2 separate regions of the Homo sapiens genome follow, and region 2 is linked to region 1. Evidence: promoter capture Hi-C in 16 types of primary human blood cells and fetal thymus (Javierre and others, 2016). All regions are on one chromosome and are shown on one strand. Each heading gives the region's core, a stretch centred on a gene start or on the middle of the fragment in contact. The rest is flanking DNA. Distances are from core to core; before and after follow the strand shown. Region 1 holds the start of ARPP21 (cAMP regulated phosphoprotein 21). Region 2 overlaps LOC101928135 (a long non-coding RNA gene).

Region 1 (4,791 bases), core at 1,607-4,106:
TAACCATGCACTGCTCTGTCTTCCCTCATGCTTCTTTTATTGCTGAGTGAGGCGCTCGCTCCTTCATTAAATAGCATTAAAAATAGACTGCACAGAACTCCCCAGTGGAGCATGCTCTAACATGGCTAATACCACAGTTCTCAAGGTAACCATACTCAACTGGGATCTAAGAGGGAAAGTCACTGGGAGATCAGCAATTTGCAAATCTAATAGCACATACAATTCTGTCTTGGTCTGAGCTAAATACTGCAAAGGACAAATCAGCATGTAGTGAAATTAAGTCACTGAGGAAGTGAAAGTCAGTTTCTTTAGCTGTATAAGTTTATTTAAATATACGTCCTCTAAACAAAGTACTCTGTTTAATAGGCACTTTTTCTAAAGTAACTTAGTTATTTTAATTATTGAATGGCATAAATCATGCCTGGAGAGGATAAATCTAAAACATGAATGCATAGCAATCCACGTATCTTAAACATTTCATTTAAACAAAATCAAAATACTATTGATAAGCAAGTGTAGTAATCAATTATGTTTCCATATCTTTTGTAATGAGGAAGCATATTCCTCAAAGCATATACCCAAACTCACTCTCCAGAAAATTTACAAATATTCTGTCAAAGTGATGAAAAGCAGAATGTTATAACAAAGGAAATATAGGATCAAACACAAATACATACCTTGAAAACCCACATACACTTGAAAAGAGTGTATTCATAAGCTCTCACATGCAATTCACATTAGAAATGCAGCAGAAGTAATTACTGCCAAGATAGTAGATTACTCGGCTATTTGAACAAAACATAGATAGAGCTCTTGGCTTCCAAATGACTGTCTTTCATGAAAATGACATTAACTAAAATCTTAAGATATTTAAGCCCTGTGGTAATACATACACAAAGGATCAAAGGAGTAGGTGTATTTATCTAAAAGTGTGTCAAAGGTTTTCTGATTTTTAACAAATGAAAAATGATTTCCTGTCATCTCCACTTCTCTGTTTACTTAAAACAATCATAGCAGTTTTTATCTCCAAAGTAGATGAGGAGGGGTTAGGAATCATTTGAATTTATTCTGCATTTGAATGAAATCTTATACAGATTCATTTCAACTTTGGGGAATGTCCTTCTTGTTTTGAGAGGCTGAGTGTCATACTGGTAGAAAATCAAACATCAAAAAACTTAAAGAAATCAAAGATTAAAATGAATATCTGTACTCTAAACACATTCTTAGGAAAATGATTTCTACCAGCCTTTTAAGAAATATAACTGCCCACCCCTATAACTTTCAATTCTCTCCTTGTTTTTTCTTTTAGGCTTGGATTCTGTCCTTACCCTACATCTTCAGGAGGTGATCAGGTAGCAAACCTGAATAGCTGACAGCAACCACATCCACCTCAGCTATATTTCTATGCATAAACATTGAATGAGTTAATTCCTATTCCTAAGAAACTTTCTAAACACCTGCCTAATTCAACTCAATTCTACCACCATATCTACAACCTGAGACAGAAAAGAGTAAATTGGCGATTGCAATGAAGCACAGATTTCATGCATGTAAAAATAAAACTGAACATCTTTTCTATTCTTCCCCTTGAGCCCTTTGGGACCTAGGACCCCAATCCTTCCAGGACAACAAACAGAGTATAACTTTCTACCTCTTCAATAGGTCTCTTTCAAAAAGAGCATTGCAAACTTTCTACCATAAAGCCTATACAAATCACTGTAGACTTCTCTGATGAAAATCATTGCCAACTTCCAGCTTTCCATTTCTGTCTTTTCTGGGGGAAGGAGCGTCCATCCCTCCTTGACGAAACATAAAAAACACAATACATGTATAACAACATCAGCTTTCTACAAACACGAAGAAGAAATACAGACAAGAAAAAATTCAAAAGAAACAGACAGATATATGGCAGAAAGAAAGAAGGAATTCTAAAAATCCACAAAAGGCGTGCAATGTTCACGTCGGAAGACCTTGATTATTACCTTGATCGAACTGTGGATATCCCCCCTGCGTCTTGGTGCCTTGATTGGTTTGATTTAGTTTTGGATTTTATTAATATTATTGTTTCTCAATGATTGATTTGGCTGGATTTGTTTGTTTTGGCTTTTGGCTTGGCTTTTGTTGTTGTTGTTGTTGTTGGGTTTGTTTGTTTGTTTTGTTTTTGGTCGATTTATTTAACTGCTAGTAAAAGGAGCTTTCTGCAGTGTCGGCTGGGATCCCACACAGCTGTGGCAGCCAGGGCTGCGGCGGCGGCTCGGTCGCGGCTTGTGTCCCCGCTGCCCCTGCTGCTGCTGGTCTCTGCTCCGGACGCGCTCAGAAGGTGCCACCGCCGCCTTCTCTGGCCGGCTGGCCGCCGGGAGTGAACGCGCCCCCGCCTCCTGTCTGCTCTTCTGTCCGTCTGCACGTCTGTCAGTCCGACCGTCTGTGGGTCCGACTAGCAGCTCGGCGCGGGATTCTCGCTTTGCTGCGCTCTGCTCTCAAAGCTGCCACTCTCGCAGGCTGCCAGTCTGTGCGCTGGTCTGTCCGTCCGTCCGAATCCCTCCGTCCCACCAGCAATGCAGCGTCCCTCTTCCGGTCTTCTGTGCCCACAGTCCTCTCCCACTCTGTGCCCCTGGCCGCTTCGCTCGGTAAGAGGAGGGCGTGTGGAGGGAGGGAGCACGCGAGTGTTGCTGTCTATCTTTCTGTGTGCCTCTCCCTGCCTACTTAATGCTCTCGCTCTCTTTGCGTTCTGGTCTCCCTCTCTCAGGCTGTCTGACTGCTCCCACCTGTCCGTAGCTCTGCCAGTCCCACCCCTAGCCAGCCAGCCTCGGTCGATCCCTCGGTCCCGTTCCTCCAGCTTGGCCGCCTCCGTCGTCTGCCCCTCCGCCGGTCCGTGCCCTCCCACGCGGCTGGCACTGCCGCCGGGGGCGGCGCCCGGCTCCTCCCCGCAGCTCCGGATGCGTCCGGTCCCCGCCCGGGCTGAGGGCAACGCGCGTGTTGCACGTGGCTCCACAGCTGCTCTGGCCGGAGACCCCGGGCCCCAGACCCGCCACACCCGGGAGGTGGCGGCAGCCGGACGCCTGCCAGTGTCGCCGCCTCTGCGCCACTGGGAGCATCCAGAACTGGCCCATCCAGAGTGATGGCACCTGCTGGGTGCGCCGGGCGCCCGCGGTACCACTCATTCCCTGGGCCGTTCTCCGCCAGCCCTAAGGCTGGAGACAAAGCGCATGAGCCACGCGCAGCAGCGTGAGCATCATTAATCAGAAAGAAAACTGGCACGTTGCCCCCTGCCCCGCCACACCGCCTCCCTGCTCCCAGCGAGCAGGCATGTATTCTCTCTTGTCCCCCGTGCCCAGGCCCTCCAGCGTACCCGTCTCGGGGGCGCCCCTGGACTCCTGGGGACTCTTGACGAAGCCTTGTTCCACTCCCTCCACCGCTCACTCTCCAGGCCAACTCTGCAGAGACAATCCCACAATAATAACACCTCGCCCCACCCGAATGAATCCGTAGCCTCAGCGCTCTTGGAGATTCTTTGCTTTGAGCAAGACTGAAAGTCCGAACGTGCAGCACCAAGTGTACTCCCTGTGGGTGACTGCCCAGACCGCTGCCCACCTGATCGCTGATTTGGAATCACAGAGGTGCCACAGAAACCTGGGCAGGGTAGGACCTGGGGAAGGAACAGAGTTGACACCTGAAGAAATAAAAGCCTTGATTTTACCGCTTGTTCTAGAGATGCACTATTTTTATTGTCTGTAATTCATTGTTTTTTTTCATTGTCTCGGAGCACTCACTAACACACTACAAGGAAGGAAAAAAAAAAAAAAAGGAAAAGGCGTAGTGAAGGAGAGTGAATAAATTTCCGGAATTCCACCTACTCCTTCTGAGTGAATGTAGAGCCTACTTTTCCAACATTATAGGTCACCAGCCAAGATATACCACTCTAGCTTTCTGCTCCCAGCTGAGAGCAAGGCATTTGATTCTGGGCTTCTTTGCAAGGTTGTTATTAATGTGCAGCAAAATTATAGTTGTACACTCACACATGGAATTGCCAAAGCTCATTTTGACTATATCCAGCAATTCAGCTTCTGAAATGTAGACACTGAATAACTGTGTATCTGGCGAAATGAACGCCCCATCCCACAATAAACTGAAGAGGAGAAAATCAACTTTTACCAGTTGTAATTAGTAACCCCATGAATAGACAACAAACAAATAACTAGCATAAAACATGTTATGAAATTTTCCACATCCTTTTAGTTTCACTTATTGACACCCAACCATAATGACAGAGATTACAAACAGATTTATTAACATAAATGCCTTTGCATTATTATAGAAATGTGATTTCTACAGCTATGGCTGTGTTCATATACGCTAAGATATTGATTATAAATCTCAAATAAATGATACATGTACTTCTAGAAACTACTGTAAAAATGGAATGAGGTTGTACCGACCCTTGATGAGTAGGTAATTATTTTCCAACTATTCGAAATTGTCTCCCTTGGTGTTCAGCTCTCACTAGAATAAGAATGAATCTGCTGTATGAGGTTTCAGGCAAACCAAACCCAAATAATTCAAAACTGTTACTTTGATCTACATCCTGATCATTTCCACGTAGTCATCTCCAGAAGTGCTTTTTTACAAGTATTTTCTCCTTCCTTCCAAACATATAAAATTTAAAGGAAAATTATGAAAGCATTTCTAATTTACTACCCTTCCCTTCATCTCAAGTCATTCTGAAAAACCTATTTTTCTTTGAGGGAAATTGAGACTGCATAGGAAGAAAGTTGGCGTATTTGATTTCTCTTC
Region 2 (4,791 bases), core at 1,355-3,854, 330 kb after region 1:
CATATTATAGATAGTTAAGTTGTAATTCACATATAAAATTGTCAGGTAATTTTCTTCAAATCGAAACAGCTCAAAACCACAGCAACAAGGTAAATTATGATACACACACACCCACACACATGCACACATACACATGCACAAATTAGAGTGGATGTCCACTCATCAAGTGTTGAGAGAAAAACACTTGGTAGACATGGCTGAGAATCACTGCAATACAATGTATAACAAGTAAGAAATCAATTCTGCAATATGTTGTTTAATATATCACAAATTATTATCTTTACAATATAAATTTGAACAATAATATAAAAACAACAACAAAAATTCTCAAAGTGGACAGGAGAAAGGAAAAAAAAGGTAATTGAGCTGGTTTTCATATCTTCCTTACCCAAAAGTTAATAGATAATATTTACACTGAATAAAAGAAAGAAACAGAGGTTTAGGTATATTATATAAACTAATAAGAGGAACCTACAGAAAACAGTAATAACAATAACAAAAAACTGAAAGTAAGACAATAACCACATAAGACCAATAAATTAAAAAAGGGAAAAGAGAGATTGATGTGGCTGTGCTAGTTTTCTCAGCTCTCCTAATGAAGACTATGTATCCTGTCTACTAAATCAGAGACTAGATGGTTAAAAACATTCCCATTAAAACAGCAACCATTACAAGTTCTAAAAGGAATCTTATGTTACAAATTAGCAGGAATAAAAATGTTTATTCAAACAAAAGCATACCACAAAACAACTGGAGAAAAAATTATATAGTAAAATGGCAGAGAGCAATGTAAACATAAAAGTGTTTTTAAAAGAAGAAATAAAGGCAGAATTAATTCAAAATATAAATATTATATTAATATAAATGGAAAATTTGTACTCATTAAAATAACAAAATTCTAATAGATGAAAATTTTAAACTAACCCCATATATTGAATAAATATATCTTAGAAATTTCAAGATTAAAAGAATAATTTTAATTTTTAAAAATTAATTTTAAAAAATGCTTGACATATTAAACAAGATAGTTGGTATATGATAAACAGTCAATTAAGTTTGTTTGGGGCATAAAATATCAAATAAAATAAAAATCGAGGCCAGGTGCAGTGGCTAATACCTATAATTCCGAGCACTTTGGGAGGCCAAGGCAGGTGGATCACCTGAGGTCAGAAGTTGGAGACCAGCCTGGTCAACATGGTGAAACCCCCTTCTCTACTAAAAATACAAAAATTTGCTGGGCATGGTGGCCTGCACCTGTAATCCCAGCTGCTCAGGAGGCGGAGACAGGAGAATTACTTGAACCTGGGAGCTGGAGGTTGCAGTGAGCTGAGATTATACCACAGCACTCCAGCCTGAGCAACAAGAGTGAAACTCTGTCTCAAAAACAAACAAACAAACAAAAAAACCAAACACACCAAAGAAGAAACAAAATAAAAATAGATAATGTAAAATGATAAAGGATAAAGGTAATATATACAACTTGGACCCATCTATCATCATCACAGTATGTATTGATTTAAATAAATAACTCAGATATCTCAGATATTGCAAGGATAAATTGACGGAAATACAATGGAAGCATCCACTCATAGCATATTATATGTATCATGAAAATAAGAAGTAGATTGTCTGAATACAATGACTAATAAGGTTGATTCGTGGATATATTTGAAAATGTTACACTTTAATAAAAGCTTTCTTTTTAGCTACTCACAAGGAATTTAAAAACTTATTCCTATAGAAAGCCTTAAAACAAACCTTAGTAATCCAGCCTAATGAAATGCAGTAAGAAAATAAATTGGCAACCCAAAAAGGACCAGCTATAAAACCATAAATATCTGTGAAGGTAAAAATGAAAACAAAAAATAAGTATGTTAACCTTAAATAATAAGATTCAGAAAATATGATTAAGTTTAGAGTTTATTGAAGGGCAAAGCTTGAGGGTGATCACCTGTGAAGCACCAACCTCAAATTGGGTCAGTGTTCCAAAATAAAGAAGTTAAGGTTTCACTTATATAGGCAGAGACAGATAAATTTTAGCAGGATTACAACATTTCCCACACAAGACCAGTGCATGTTACAGGAATTCTATTGGTTACACGTTGCTACATTCCAAGAAAGATAACTGTATTACTCTGTGAGGACAGTAGTGATCAGAAGGGGTATCATCTCTGGTACCATTTGGTCTTCCTAATTATTTGCAGCAACAAAAGGCAGAAGTTGCAGCTGCATGCCACCTGACTCAGGCCACATAGCCACATTTCTCACAAGGCTTCGAATAATTTAAAGTTTCAACAGCTTTACATCTGAAATATTTAATTTCAGAAGTGTATATCTTTTGCCAAAGATAAAAACAGAAACCACAGAAAGATATAATCATAACATGTTTGCTGTGTATATTGTCAGAAATGTGAATATTACAATCTTTTGACATATATGTATGTATGTATTTTTTATAAACAAGTTTTTAATATTAGCCTAGAAAAGAAAGCTGATCTTGGTTCCTGAGACTGAGATTTATAGCAACCAGTGATATTTAGGCAAAGCACTTCCAGTATCCCTTCCAGGGCTTCACTAAGTCTTTTCCGCACTTCTCAAAACTCCAAGTTTCACTGATTTTCAAATTCCTCCCCTTTGGACACTAGTTTTCTGCTGTTTTTCACACTCTGCTTTAATGTCACAGTGGTTTGCCTCACTTTTTTTCAAGTTCTGTTTCACCTTTTAAAGCACCAAGCTAAGAGTTTCTCTTCACTGCATACTTAAAAAATGGATAGTTTAGAATAATAGACAATTTCCATAAGTACCATTTAACCATATAGCACTTATAGTTACACAGTGTCTTATGGTTAAAAATAGGCATTATTAATAAATATTCCCTGGTCACATAAATTTACAAATTGAGCACGTCTTCCTGAGAAACCTGACAGAATCTGCAAATTGCATATAATTCCCGAGGACTACTTTATGTTGGGATAATATATGTGGTATTTTATTTTTATTTAACAGGTATACAATTAATGTTTTCACATATTAAAAATACTAACCATTGAAAGGGAAATAAAATTTTACTAAAGTCTTTCCTTTAACCCCATTCATTAGATAACAAAATACCGAAAATATGTCTGTATTTAGTTTTTCTTTGTTTAACATTTTAAGATTATGTTTAACATTTAAGATTAAGAAATGTTTAACATTTTAAGATTATATTATATATATATATAAGATGTATATATATATCTTCATTCCTGATTATTGTTTTCTAGACAAGCTTTACAATCTCCCTGCTTTAGAAAACATTCATATGTTACTACCCACCTTCCCATTTTCTCCCTTCTAACTTCTAATCCCAATATTGTTGGATATATTACTATTATTTTCAGAGATTGACACTTCTAGCATTAAATTCTAAATTTAATATTTATTTCTTGATTTATCAAGCTTTGAAAATACCTACTAATTTTGTGCTATAAAAGAGAATGGAATAAGGACTTTATTTCTTTCATCTCTCTTCCCCCTTCCTATTACTATAAATATTGTATTTTACATTTACAAGGTTTATAGAATATACATTCTATTTCATTAAATAGCATTGAATTATTTGTGGTTTGTCGGTACTTTGATTTTCAAAAAAGAAAGCAATAATAGTATTCATAATATTATGATTATGTACATGTACATCACATTCATACAATAATGAAATTGTGTAGTTGAAACCATGTAAAAGAAAATGCAGCCTCACATCTTACAAAATTTCGAATTGTATATGTATTTCAGTGTGTTAGAGTGTATGAATTGTATATGTATTTCAGCGTGTTAGAGTGTATGAATTGTATATGTATTTCAGCGTGTTAGAGTGTATGAATTGTATATGTATTTCAGCGTGTTAGAGTGTATGAATTGTATATGTATTTCAGCGTGTTAGAGTGTATGAATTGTATATGTATTTCAGTGTGTTAGAGTGTATGAATTGTATATGTATTTCAGTGTGTTAGAGTGTATGAACTGTATATGTATTTCAGTGTGTTAGATTACACTTTATTTTTTGCTAGCATTCCCATTCTGCATTATGCTCAATTGTCATTGTTTATTTTAGCTCATGTTACCCCTGAGTTAAATTACTTTTAATTTCATTGAAATTACATCCTGATGAATATGTTTTTAAAATGTACTTGGCCAGGCATGGTGGCTCAAGCTTATAATCCTAACACTTTGGGAGGCCCATGTGGGCAGATCATGAGGTCAGGAGATCGAGACCATCCTGGCTAACACGGTAAAACCCATCTCTACTAAAAATACAGAAATTAGCCAGGCGTGGTGGCATGGGCCTGTAATTCCAGCTACTTGAGAGGCTGAGGCAGGAGAATTGCTTGAACCTGGGAAGTGGAGGTTGCAGTGAGCCAAGATCACACCACTGCACTCCAGCCTGGGCAACAGAGCGAGACTCCTGCTCAAAACAAACCAAAACAAAAAAATGTACTTAGAGAATAATGAATGTTGTAACCTTTTTCATAAATAAAACATCTTTATTTTGCCCTCATATTGGATTGGGGATGAAACTCTAGGTTTAAAGGTGATTTTTTTTCCCCCTCAGAATTGAGGACTTTTAAAATTATTTTCTGTATTCAATGTTGTTAAGACAGTGTATGGCTGTTTCTATAACGTTTTCTGTGTAAATAACTTTCTGTTCTTATTTAAAAGCTTTTAGAATTTTCTTTTTATCTTTGAGGAAATGGAAATTCAATATGTGTACATATGGATAATACTTCATTAGTCCTGCTTTCCATTCAACAT

What was found. The method cuts DNA at HindIII sites, captures the fragments that hold promoters and counts their contacts. A CHiCAGO score of 5 or more calls a contact.
Region 2: a fragment that was not itself captured here is called in contact with the fragment with the promoter of ARPP21 in region 1 in 1 of 17 cell types (fetal thymus); the score reaches 9.6 in fetal thymus.

What each region holds. Positions count from the first base shown.
Region 1 is chr3:35,637,590-35,642,380 of GRCh38, reverse strand. ARPP21 (cAMP regulated phosphoprotein 21) reads right to left here and starts at 2,856. Exons shown (of 21, transcript NM_001385562.1): 1 at 1,983-2,856. The HindIII fragment of the contact is 6,229 bases long and covers 1-4,791 here.
Region 2 is chr3:35,307,850-35,312,640 of GRCh38, reverse strand. The region is part of intron 1 of LOC101928135 (a long non-coding RNA gene); the gene reads left to right. Among named protein-coding and RNA genes, the nearest start is that of ARPP21, 330 kb to the left of the region's middle. The HindIII fragment of the contact is 1,332 bases long and covers 1,939-3,270 here.